Regions from separate parts of the Homo sapiens genome. Here all the other regions are linked to region 2. The links are contacts of gene promoters, found by promoter capture Hi-C in human tissues and cell types (Jung and others, 2019). All regions are on one chromosome and are shown on one strand. Each heading gives the region's core, a stretch centred on a gene start or on the middle of the fragment in contact. The rest is flanking DNA. Distances are from core to core; before and after follow the strand shown.

What was found. The method cuts DNA at HindIII sites, captures the fragments that hold promoters and counts their contacts. A contact is called where the count stands out against the background at its distance.
Region 1: a contact is called between a fragment that was not itself captured here and the fragment with the promoter of CLSTN2 in region 2, in 2 of the 25 tissues and cell types used here (H1 embryonic stem cells and heart left ventricle).
Region 3: a fragment that was not itself captured here is called in contact with the fragment with the promoter of CLSTN2 in region 2 in 1 of the 25 tissues and cell types used here (dorsolateral prefrontal cortex).

Annotation. Positions count from the first base shown.
Region 1 is chr3:139,598,298-139,602,640 of GRCh38, reverse strand. All of the region lies in intron 4 of NMNAT3 (nicotinamide nucleotide adenylyltransferase 3), which reads left to right. Among named protein-coding and RNA genes, the nearest start is that of RBP1, 61 kb to the right of the region's middle. The HindIII fragment of the contact is 3,592 bases long and covers 485-4,076 here.
Region 2 is chr3:139,932,188-139,936,741 of GRCh38, reverse strand. CLSTN2 (calsyntenin 2) reads right to left here and starts at 1,557. Exons shown (of 17, transcript NM_022131.3): 1 at 1,259-1,557. The coding sequence starts at 1,367. RefSeq lists silencers at 1,410-1,469, 1,510-1,559. The HindIII fragment of the contact is 4,702 bases long and covers 1-3,668 here.
Region 3 is chr3:140,224,395-140,228,588 of GRCh38, reverse strand. All of the region lies in intron 2 of CLSTN2 (calsyntenin 2), which reads right to left. LOC124909440 (a long non-coding RNA gene) reads right to left here and starts at 2,986. Exons shown (of 2, transcript XR_007096118.1): 1 at 2,949-2,986. The HindIII fragment of the contact is 3,889 bases long and covers 168-4,056 here.

The DNA.
Region 1 (4,343 bases), core at 1,031-3,530, 330 kb after region 2:
AGCCAATGCCAATCTGTGGTTCTCCACTAGCACATAAGAATTGCCTGGGATGCTTGTGAATAATTAAAGTGCCTAAACCTCACTGCCAGTAAGCAGATTTGGTTACAATCTGGAATTTGCATTTTTGTCAATGACATCAATGCAGACTTCACTTTGAAAAATACCAGAAGGAACTGACATTAATATATTGTCTTCTATCCTGTTCATTCTACCCAATGTCAATTTTAGGAAAAAATCTTGTTTCAAGTTTCCTGTTCCTGTAGCAGTTTCAGGAGCAGCCCAGGCAAGGGAGGTTGACTGGTGGGCCAAGCAGGTCTCTTCCCTAATACAATGCTGTTAACCTCAAGGGCAGAGTCCACAGCTCCATCAGATGTGCTTAAAGAATTAAGAAAATGGCTTCCTGATTTCTACAGTGATTCCTTCCCATTTAGTGAGTAATCATTAGTCTTAACATGAATAATGCAAAAAAGGCAGCTAAGCAGTTTAAATTTTATCCATAAAATTAAGCCCTGTGTTTCACCACAGCATTTAACTCCATGACCTATTTTATTGAATCCCCCGCATATCTTGGACAGCTTCCTTGAGTGTAAATTACCATGAAGGTAAATTGAAAATGTATCAAGAAATGGGCAAGGATGTTAATGCAGAATCAAGGCATCATCGAGCTTCAGTTGTTATGAAGATTTTTTAAAGTATCTTTCCAATACAGTTAAAGTGAAAAGAATTGATTTGATTAACAAGGCTTTACCTTTCTTAGGTTACCATCTGCCTTCAACATTGTAGGTGATTCAGTTTCAATGTCCCATCCTCCAGAAAACGTGTTCCAACCTGTTCAGAGCTTCTTTCGGGCTCCTGACACTTCCCTCATGTGTTTCTGCCCAGCAGTGACTACCCATCTGGAGACTGTCCAACTCCCTTGGGACTTTATCCCCCACCCCCAACCCCATCCTGTGAGAGCAGGGCTCCCATCATATTTATTTCTGAATCCACATTGCTGGTACACTCTCTGGCTTGAAGTGTGTGCTAAACTGTCTGCTAAAGAATCAGTGTGTTCCCCTCTTGACTTAAAAGCAGGAAAGGAAATGTTATTTGTAGTGAAAACAAGGAGGCAGGTAGGGGAAAATTCAGATTCTACTGATATTTCTAGTGTGCTTTCCAACCGTGTATCTGCCCCTGAACTATCCCTATATTAGTCATTTGAGTCTTACGCCATGCCTCCGAAGTGTGTGGTATTATTTATTCTTATTGCACAAGTGAAGGGAATAGGGTATAGAGAGGTTAAGTAATTTGCCCCAGGTCACACAGCTCATAAGTAGCAGAGGCTCACACTTAGGTCTGTCTCTGCATGCTGGACCTCAAATTCCTGTTACTGCAAAGCCTGGCTTGAAAGGACAGTTGAAGTAACAGATTGCCCAGGCTCAGTTATTTGTTAATAGAGGACAGAGCTGCTTTGCCTAGATTCCACACATGGAGGATGTCCAGTGCAGTGTTGAGCAGCTTGCCTTCAGCAGGAGCAGACTTTATGCCCAGCCAGAACTGCCTGATTACAACCTGTCCTCACTGCCTGCTCCCTGGCTGCCTTTCTTCCTATGTGAGGTTCCTGCCAGGTCTGAGGATCCCAAAGAGAAGGTAATGAGTTTTTGAGGGGCCATGAGACCCTAGCATTTGGGAGTTCTGGTGAGTGCTTTTTAAAACCCACCTACTGCGAAAAGATTCTGGTCAGTGGGCAGAGAGACACAGCTGGGTGTTAAATGATGGGAGACAGAGGCTTGCAAAAAAGGAGATTCTAATGCTCCAAAAGCAGGCAGGACCCCAACGGAGCACCCCTTCCTCTGGAAGCTATGTAAGGGCTCAGACACACAGAAGGTGCTGCCAGCCAACCAGTGCCACATGTCTGAGACTCAGAGAGATGATTGCAGAGAAAGGAACAGGAAAAAGAAGAAACAAAAACATCCTTTCTGCCAGGTGTGGTGGCAGGCATCAATTTCAAAGGCCTCTTTGTGACTGGATTGAAAAAGCCAGGAGCAGGGAGAAGAATAGATCCAGGTGGCAGGCCTATAATCCCAGCACTTTGGGAAGCCAAGGTGGGTGGATCACCTGAGGTCAGGAGTTCGAGACCAGCCTGACCAACATGGTGAAATGCTGTCTCTCCTGAGAAATACAAAAAAAATAGCCAGCGTGGTGGTGGGTGCCTGTAATCCCAGCTACTCGGAAGGCTGAGGCAGGAGAATCCCTTGAACCCAGGAGGCAGAGGTTGCAGTGAGCCAAGATTGCGCCATTGCACTCTAGCCAGTGCTACAAGAGCAAAACTCCGTCTCAAAAAAAAAAAAAAAATCCTTTCTATCCAGGACCAAAGGGAAGTTTAAACCCTATGAAATATTGCTGCTTTGTTGTTTACTTTGCCAAATTCTTAAGAAGTTGCACACAAAGAAAGCAGGACATTTGGAAATAAAGAAAGAGAAACCTCATACTGACAAGCTCAGGCACTGAAAGATTCTGAAGACCAAAGTGGGCTTTATAGTGTGCAGGAAGAGTTTGCTGATTGAAAGGAAGACTCTTCACACACAAAGAAGTAAGAGAAATTGAAGCCAGACAGAAGAGCACATATTCCAAGGGCACTGAGGAGAGAGGGCAGATGATCACACTTCCAGTAATGGCCACCGTGGTCCCAGCTGGCCGACTGTGCTGCCAGAGGGCTAGGCTCCATTTTGGAGTAATGGGAAGACCTGGATCTATTCTTCTCCCTGCTCTTGGCTTCCTCAATCCAGTCACACAGAGGCCTTTGAAATTGATGGGCACTTCTGGCCAGCAGGACACAGGGCGGAGCAGTAAATAGGTGTTCTCAAATTCATTTGGATCACACAGTTGAAGAGCTCTCTGGAGAAACAAAAAAAGATGCAAAACATTAAATAAGCTTGAAGACTGATAAGGAAAATAAAGACAATGGTGCTAAAATGGCCTCAAAGTCTCAGTAGCCACAGCCAGATCATATTTTCCAAGCTTCACTTAGAGGCGAGGTTTAATCACAACAGTCTGTTTGTAAAGGCATGCATAACCATTTAGTTGAGATTCTGGTCTTTTTTATGTTTTTTCTTAACATGCTACATTACCCCAAGCTTCTTTGTTACTTGATTCTTAACACCACTTGTGACAGTTGCTCCTGATCTCTTAGATTTTTGTCTTTCAAGGCCTTTGTTTCCCAGGGTGCACTTCAGCCAACACAACCAAGGGAAGAAGAAAATGGGCAAAAGTGTGCATGAGGTGGTAGGGGCCAGACTGTGCTTGTGCCCACAGAAACACCAAGCTTCTCCCAGCAAAAGCCCCAGAACTGAAGTCTGCAAAAGGGAAGAGGCAAATTAGTAATCATTCTGTGCTACAGAGCAGCCACGTCTGAGCATTACCTAATGCTTTTCTCAATTGTTTTGACACATGTAGTTTTGTTTTAAATATGTATGGTAATTTTTAATAAAATGCTGATAAGTGTGCCAAGCCATTCTCTGTGGAAATAATGAAGTCTTTACAGTTTGGAATGCTATTAAGTCTTTGCTTCACGGTTTGTGAGGCTGCTAGCATTTTAAGCAGCAATAACATTTTATTGAGGCCCAGTCTTGCTGAGGGGGATGGTCAGCTCTAGAAGGGGCAGTTTTTCCATCACACCTTAGAGTGACCTGGTTTGGGGCTACACATAGATGGAGGTGGAGCTACTTAGTGGTACCCTTCTTAGCCCTGCCTGGCTTAGCTACTACCTCTCCAAAATTCACTGTCCATCATCAGTACAGTGCAGTAGAAAAAAAAATATGGGCAAACCTGGGTTTGAATCTCAAGCCTACCATTTTCAGGTAGTATAACCATGGGAAAAATCACATAAACTTTTTGAATCTCCATTCCTGTTCCAGTTATCAGTATATAACAAACCACCCCAAACTTACTGGTGTAAATTGACCATTCTGTTATGCTCATAGATTCAGTGGGTCAGGAATTTCACCAGAGCACAACTGGGTGGCTTGTCCCTGCTCCATGATACCTGGGGACTCAGCTGAGAAGTCTTGAAGACTGTGACCGAGTGGAGTCCCTGCAGTCATCCAGGGACTCTTCATTCATGTGTCTGGCAGTTGGTGCTGGGTGTTGGACATTGACTACAGCACATGCATGTGGCCACACTGTGGGGTCTTTCTGAGTAGGCTAGTTTGGGCGTTTTTTAGAACCCATTCATGGCAGCTGGGTTCTAAAACCAAGTGCCCCAAGACCATAAGATGTAAGTGCATGGCATTTTTATGACCTAACCTCAGAAGTCACAAAGTATCACTTCTGCCATTGAGTAAAGCAGTCACAAATACCTACCC
Region 2 (4,554 bases), core at 308-2,807:
ATTGGAGGGCCAGTTTCTAAAGCCCAGACAAGGCGAACTGCCTGCCTCCAGCTCTCCCCAACCTCCAAGAGTAATGCAGCCTGATAGGCATTTCCTCCCCTAAGCTAGTGGTCAAGTGTAGCTCAAAGCAAGCGTCCGAATCAGGCTGTCTCTAACAGGGAATCTATTTTCTGACAGGCGCAAACCCCTCCGCCCTCTGATGATTGCCAGGCAGGATTTGGGGACCAAGTACCCCTCATTGTCACCTGGCGGATTTGGCCACAGTCCACAAACCAAACGCAAGCCCTACTTATGAACAGCGCAGAGAATCAACAAGTTATCACTAAGCTGTGCGCCCCAGCTAGGATCTGCCACAGCCTCCCCTGAGCCCACCACTGTTCCCCACCAGCTCTGCTCTTCCCTCGCCTCCCCACCCCCTGCAAGCACGTGACCTCCTGTTTCAGACCCGGCCCCCCACCCCAGAGCTCCCGACGCTCCCAGGCAGCTGTCAAAGTCCGGGGTTCGCCGGCTTCCAGGCTCGCCTGACAGAGCCAGGCGTTCGCTTGGATCTAGCTTCCTTCCGGGCGGGAGGCGCGGGGAGGTCAAGCTCTTCAAAGGAACAGGGTGGGCAGGGGAGTGGTGCCAGGTTAGGCTCCTCGGTCCTCGGTAGTCAGAGCGGAGTAGGAAAGGCAGCGGGGAGCCTCACATCCCGCGCTTCTTCCGGACCCCGCCGCCTACCCGGAGGGTACACGTTCCCCGGGGAGTCAGAGACGCCCTGGGGGAGCTTGAGGAGTGTCAGCGGGGCCTTCCCTGGAGCCTACAAGTTTCCACTCCATCCCCGAGCTGGGAGACAAGTCACAGCTCGGCTCCCTCCTTGAAAGCACCGCCGCTGATCCTTCCCCCAGGCAGGAGCAGACACCTGCTTGTCCCCACGGCGCGCCAGCGCCCTGCTCTAGCCGTCCCTGGGCCAGAGCTCGAAACTCACCCACTGCGCTCCCACCCCGGCACAGACAGCCCTCAAAGTTGTCCGTACTCCCCAGACCTCGCCTTCTGCTCAGCCCCCGGACCCCGCCCAGGGGTTGAGTTGACGTCCGCGGGTGGACCTCTCTGGTCCGCTGCGCAGGGAACTGACTTCGGGAATCCAGGGCGCACAGAGGCCAAAGAAGCTGCGGCAAGGGAGGGTGGGCAAATCCAGCTTGAGCCTAGGTCCTTGCCGCTTTCACCCTCAAGCCTGCCCTGCCTCCCTCCTGGGAGAAGAGCAAACTTCCCCAGCACCCACCTTTAGCCGCGAGGAGGCGGCGCTGCCGGCTGTCCCCGCCACCGCCGCTGCCGCTCCCCACGCCCAGCGCCAGCAGGAGCGGCACCCAGCACAGCCGCCCAGGCAGCATCCTCGCAGCAGCCGCCAACGAGCTGCAGCCGCCGCCTACTGTCCGCGCCGGCTCTCGCCTCCCGGTGCCTGCCGCACCGTGGGCCGCCTCGCCGTGCCCGATGGGTGCGCTTCTAGCGCTGCCGCCGCGGCGCTCGGCCTCGGGTTCCCGCCGCTGCGCCGCTAGCTCGCCGGCAGCAGCCGCGCTCACTGGCGCGGACCCGGAGCGGCTCAGGCGCTCACCCCGGGACGGCCCGTGACGTCACGGAGGGAGGGAGGTGGCTCGTGCATATTCATGAACGCGGGCATCGGCGCCGGGTTCCGCGCTCCCCGCCCCAAGGCCCCGACCCCCAACTTTCCTCAGCCGTCTCCACGCTCCGGGGCCCTGTCCAGGTCCCCCTGCCCAGTCGGGACCGGGCCCCCAGAGGACCCTGGTGGGCGGCTCCGGAGAGCCCTCCAGCCCCGCGCCTCCACTCCGACTCTCGGAAAAGCTGCCGCAAGGGATGGAGGGCTCCCCCAGAAAGTGGCCACCCGAGGCCTGAGGGTCATCTGGGGTGGCGCGAGGGACCCTGACCTGCCATGCCCTTTGAACTGATATCTGGGCGGAGAGGACTGACGGGCGTCGCTAAGGGTCTTGCCCTTGGCTGGGTCTCTGGGCGTTCTGCGTCGACTGGTCTGGGGAGGGCGCCAGGCGCACACTAGAGCAGCGCCTAGTGGTGCTAGGGGTTGTCGGGCAGAGTAGATAGCCTTGGACCTGGATGGCAATGGCAGGGCTCCGCGTCATCTCCGAGAAGCAGGGGCAGCCGCGGCTCTTAGAGGCTGATAGAACAGCTAGATCAGAAAACTTGGGGTGCTGGGCCTGCTGAGGCTGCAGTGGCGGGGGCGGGGTGTCAAACTTAAAATTCCCTGCGGTATGGTGCCATGCAAGAAGTTGCCACCTTTATGTTGTCACTCCGCATCTCTAAGAACAGGCTACTTGACGTCATGCATTGTAAAATCTCGTGCCGTTGAGTATTGTCAGTTCCCTGAGTGCAGGAGCCAGTGCATATCTTTGCATCCTCAACCATCTCTAGGCCGTGAAAAAATTACAAAGGTACTCAAAAAAAAAAAAAAAAAAAACAGTAAGGACTCAGAATAAATCCTTGACCATATTTACCTAAATGAAATGCCAACATCACACACAATGCAGGGTTTATGAGGAATAGTTTGGAAATAAAGTAGATATGGAAATACAGAAACAAACAATATTATTTATTTAGTCATTGATTCAAGACGTTTGCTGAGCATCTAGACAGGCTGTATCACCCTGACAGTGAGCACTGGATTAGTCGTTGGAGATCCAAAGACAGAGGAGAGAGTGGGTCCTATCCTCAAAGCTTTTGTTCCCTGCTTGGGGAGCCAGAGAGGGCAGCAAAGGCAATTACAATCCCTTGTAAGTGTTATGGTCCTGCACATTCTTTATGTTGCTAGCTATGAGCCTATACAAATCAATTAACAAAATGTATATATTGCAAGAGTGCCTAAACAGCATCCTCTAATTAATAACTGTAGTTTGAGGTACTCAACAAAGCCATAAAATCCATTAACAGCACTCCTGCAGCTCAGCCTCCCTCTGCTGCCCTGGCAGCTCACTCAGAGCCTCTGCAGTGGTGAAAGCCAACTCTTCAGGATTTCAGGCACCAGGATGTGCTTGGGGACAGCAGTGAATCATGGTGGCTGCATGGGGCTCAGACCCATGTGGGGCTCTTTACCTTCAGGTCTCCTTTAGCCCACAAATCAACATGTGCGCTATTATTCTCATTTCACACATGATGAAATAGAGGCTCAGGGAAGTTAGGTAACTTCCTTGTTCAGGGTCAAAAATCTAGTAAATGTCCCAGGCCGACACCAGGACCTTGCCTTTGTCAGATGTTGGTTTCAGAATCTAGAAAAGATGGCATGGAAAGGTGGTAGCTGACCCAGGGAAAATAAAAAAGCCAGAAAATAGAAGAGAAATGTAAATTTGTCTCATTTTCTTCCATTTATGCTCCACCCAACTACATATCTGCCCTCCTCCCTTCATTTTCTCTAATAAGTAGACCTATCTTACTGACTTACCTGCACTGTTCTTTGATGTCATTATACTGGGCTTTGTTAAGATCACTGATTGGTCCTAATAATTTTATGTGAAGTTTCAAATTCAGACCAAATAATGAGAAACAGGGGGAAATGTAGCTTATTAGGAAGCATCTCCATGGAGAGATAGCCAGGAAAGAACACAGCAAAGAAAAACACTAGGGGGTGGGCCAGTTACCAACAGGCACAAAATTGCTAGCCTCCATCTCCTCCTCTACCAATGAGGGTAATAACAATGCCTATTGTGGTAGATCAAGTGCACTAATGGCCATTTGTCCATGCTTCTCTGAATCTGTTTCCTTTGGATGTGCCCTCCCACCCCAACTCTGAGCTAGGCCATATGATTTGCTTTGGTCAGTGGGACAGTGGCATGCATGTTGCTTCTTCCTGCCTTGAATCCCTGCTGCTGACATGAGAACAAGCCTAAGCTAACCTGCAGAAGGGTAGGAGACTGCATGGAGTAGAACTGAGCTGTTTCAGACAGCCAAGGTCACACTAGGCTGGTCAGAACCAACTGGCCTACAGGCTGGCTAACCACAGACACATGAGCAAGCCCAGGTAAGCTCAACCAAGATCAGCCAAGCCTGGCTCACATCAGAACTATCCAGCTGACTTATGAGATACAATAAGTGGTTTTTGCATTAATTCATTATGTTCTGGAGCAATTGATTGAGCAGCATTATGCCTACTTCATAAGATCATTACAAGAAGTAAATTTTAAAAATATGTTAAACAGTATGTTGCACATAGTCAATGTTCAATAAATGTAAAAATGTCTTCCCCTTATCCTACTTCCTATATCTCTGAAAACAAGTGTGCCAGTCACACATTTGATTTGATTCATTTGGGGAACAGGCAACAATGACCTGCCTTAGAGGAGATAAAAGTAAGTAAGTTCAGCCTTAGAAATACTCAGACATAAGAGCTTTTAAGTCCACATCATTTGTATGGAGCACTACTGTGCTGTCTGCTTCTGCTGGGCCATTGCAGATGCAAAAGATGGGGTAAAGCAACCTAACAGTTAATGAGTCCTCATTCTTTCCATGCCAGGCTTTACAATGGAGGATATACATTCCACACCTACACCTTCTTTA
Region 3 (4,194 bases), core at 863-3,362, 290 kb before region 2:
TGGTACTACAAGAGTGGGGTGCTGCTGAAAAGATACCCAAAAATGTGCAAGCAACTTTGGAACTGGGTAACATGCAGAGGTTGAAACAGTTTTCAGGGCTCAGAAGAAGACAGGAAAATGTGGGAAAGTTTGGAACTTCCTAGAGACTTGTTGATGGCTTTGCCCAAAATGTTAATAGTGATATGGAATATAAAGTCCAGGCTGAGGTGGTCTCAGATGGAGATGAGGAGCTTTTAGGGAACTAGAGCAAAGGTGACTCTTGTTATGTTTTAGCAAAGAGACTGGTGTCATTTTGCCCCTGCCCTAGAGACTTGTGGAACTTGAACTGGAGAGAGATGATTTAGGGTATCTGGCAGAAGAAATTTCTAAGCAGCAAAGCATTCAAGATGTGACTTGGGTGCTGTTAAAGGCATTCAGTTTTATAAAGGAAGGAAAGCCTAAAAGTTCAGAAAATTTGCAGCCTGACAATGAGATAGAGAAGAACATCCCATTTTTTGAGGAGAAATTCAAGCCAGCTGCAGAAATTTGCATAAGTAACGAGGAGACAAATGTTAATCCCCAAGACAAGGGGGGAAATGTCTCCAGGGCATGTCAGAGACATTTGTGGCAGCCCCTCCCATCACCAGCCTGGAGGTTTAGGAGGAAAACATGGTTTTGTGGGCCAGGCCCAGGGTACCTATGCTGTGCACAGTCTAGGGACTTGGTGTCCTGTGTCCCAGCCACTCCAGCTGTGACTAAAAGGGGCCAAGGTACAGCTCAGCCTGTTACTTCAGAGGGTGGAAGCCCCAAGCCTTGGCAGCTTCCAGGTGGTGTTGAGCCTGCAAGTGCACAGAAGTCAAGAATGAGGGTTTGGTAACCTCAACCTAGACTTTAGAAGATGCATGGAAACACCTGGATGCCCAGACAGAAGTTTGCACAGGGTTGGGGTCCTTGTTGAGAACCTTTGCTAGGGCAATGCAGAAGAGAAATGTGGGTTCTAAGCCCCCATACAGAGTCCCTCCTGGGGCACTCCCTAGTGGAGCTGTGAGAAGACGGCCACTATCCTCCCAACCCCACAATGGTAGATCCACTGAGAGCTTGCACTGTGCACCTGGAAAAGCCACCAACACTCAATGCCAGCCCATGAGGACAGCCGGGAGGGAAGCTGTACCCTGTGAAGCCACAGTAATGTAGCTTTTCAAGACCATAGAAACCAACTTCTTGCATCAGCTTGACCTGGATGTGAGACATGGAGTCCAAGGAGTTCATTTCAGAGTTTTAAGATTTGACTGCCCTGCTGGATTGCAGACTTGCATGGAGCCTGTAGCCCCTTTGTTTTGGCCAATTTCTCCCATTTGGATTGGCTGTATTTACCCAATGCCAGTACTCCCATTGTATCTAGGAAGTAACTAACTTGCTTTTGATTTTACAGGTTCATAGGTGGAAGGGTCTTGCCTTGCCTTGAATGAGACTTTGGACTGTGGACTTTTGAGTTAACGCTGAAATGAGTTAAGAATTTGGGGGACTGTTGGGAAGGCATGATTGGTTTTGAAATGTGAGGACATGAGATTTGGGAGGGACCAGGAGTAGAATAATATGGTTTGGTTGTGTCCCCACCCAAATCTCATCTTGAATTCCCAAGTATCATGAGAGGGACCTGGTGGGAGGTGATTGAATTATGGGGGCGGGTCTTTCCTGCACTGTTCTCATGATAGTGAAAGAGTCTCACAAAATCTGATGGTTTTAAAAATGGGAGTTTTTTTTTGCACAAACTCTCCCTTTGCTGCCATCCATATAAGACACGACTTGCTCCTCGTTGACTTCTGCCTTGATTGGGGGGCTTCCCCAGCCACATGGAACTGTAAGTCCTGTCTTTCTTTTGTAAGTTGCTCAGCCTTGGGTATGTCTTTATCAGCAGCATGAAAATGGACTAATACACCAGCACTGCATAGTTTAGGTCCTGTTCCATTATCTAGTCTCTCTTAGGCAATTATTCACATTTCTAACATCTTTTTTCCAACATTTTATTATAAAAAATTTCAAATATGGAGAAAAATTAAAAGAATTCTATAATGAATACCCATATACCACTTTATCCCATATCTATCCATCTATCTAGCTGTCGATCCACCTTATTTTCCAACATTTTCAAATTAAGCTTTTTATTTTGAATGTAATTATAGATTTAAACACAGTTGTATAAAATAATACAGAGAAATCCTATGTGTCTTTTACTCAGCTTTTCCCAGTGATAACATCTTGCAAAGCTATAGCACAATATCACAACCAGGACATTGACATTGATACAGTCAAGATGCAGAACAGTTCATCACCACCAGGACCTCTCATGTTACCCTTCTATAGCCACATCTACTTCCCTCCCATCCCCACCCTGTCTTTAATCTCTGGCACCACTAAATGTTCTCCATTTCTGTGGTTATTTTAAGAATGTTATATAAATGGAATCATGCAGCATGTATGTAGGCTTTTGGGATTGGCTTTTTTCTCTCAGTGTAATTCTCTAGGGATTCACCCAGGTGGTTGTATATATCAACAGTTAATTCCCAAGGTGTTTTCCAAGGCATTTTCACACCCTAGGAAAGCTATTCATAAGCTTGTGTTGGTATCACCCAATAAAATCCCCAGCAATATTATAGAAGAAAACATATTCTTTTAGAGTCCTTTTTTTTTTAAAAAAAATCAACTTATGGAGATTTTGACACTTGGTCATTATTGGCCAAAAACAGTTTGAAAAGTTTCCAGTGTGATTTTCATTTGTGTGAGTTTGAGAAGGGCATGAAAATGTCAGTGTCAAGGCCGGGTGCAGTGGCTCATGCCTGTAATCCCAGCACTTTGGGAGGCCGAGGTGGTAGATGATGAGGTCAGGAGATTGAGTACATCCTTGCCAACATGGTGAAACCCCATCTCTACTAAGAATATAAAAATTAGCTGGGCATGGCAGCACACACCTGTAGTCCCAGCTACTCTGGAGGCTGAGGCAGAAGAATCACTTGAACCCGGGAGGCGGAGGTTGCAGTGAGCCGATATCGCGCCACTGTACTCCAGCCTGGGCGACAAGAGCAAAACTCCATCTCAAAACAAACAAACAAACAAACAAACAAAAATGTCAGTGCCCGTATTCATCTTGCATAAAATATTTGAACTTTATGCTGCACTAAAACAATAAATTGTCTCTGTAATAAGACATGGGCAATTAAACAAGCAAGAGAAACAATTCGTGTAGCTCAAGTCAGATGGAAACAGTGCAACTGAAGTAATGTAATCACACTCCAGGAGCCAGATAATGGGATGTGTGCCCAGGAAAGGTGGCTGGTGTCTCTCTCACCATCACCTGGAAAGGCAGACCAACCAGAAGGACAGGAGTCCTTCTTTACAGGGATAGCAGGGCCCTTCCCATAAAGCAGCAGGTGGGGGAAGGGTGGAGAGTCTGCCCAGATAGCTCTGTGATTGGTGTGAGCCTATGCTCCGAGCTGGGAGGCTGCTGACCCAGATGGCTGGAACTGATGCTCCATTGTGAGTTGTTACTGAATTCACACATAGTGCAACCTGGATGGGCCCAGCATAGACATGTTGGAGGGCTGGCTGGCGCACTTGCTGGTGGAGCAGGGAAAGCCCTTTTCTATGGCTGCCCTTCCTTGGGTTGCTTGGCTTAGGCACAGACCACCTGGTATTTCTTCTTATATTGTGGACTTGCTTTTTCACTAGTCTCTCTAATCTCTAGCTTAGTATTTTCCTTCATGTGTTTCTCAGAACATAGGTCAATGGGAGTCTAATAGGAATTAGCAAACAAGAGTTTTTTGGTTACATAAGTTTGGGGAATGGTGGATTAATCAATGCTAAATAAGTGTCTTTATGGAGGGCTGCTCAGATCCTCTGACACAGGACTGGGCACAGAAGGTCTATATTATTATGTAAGACTCCATGGTTATGACTGATTATATGATTATAATAAAATTTTTATAACCTATTTGACCAAGGAACCTGACTTTTTGTGATGCTTCAACCAGACTAAAGTTCTGTGGGTCACACTTTGAGGACTTTGATCTGCTTGCTTCATGTCTATAAAGCCTGCACGCACATGAACACATAATATAAACTCCATGCTGGCAGGGCTCCTCATTATGTTCCCTGATGTGTCTTCACTGTCTAGGACAGTCCCTGCTCATATTAACTACTCAATAAACACTAGCTAAA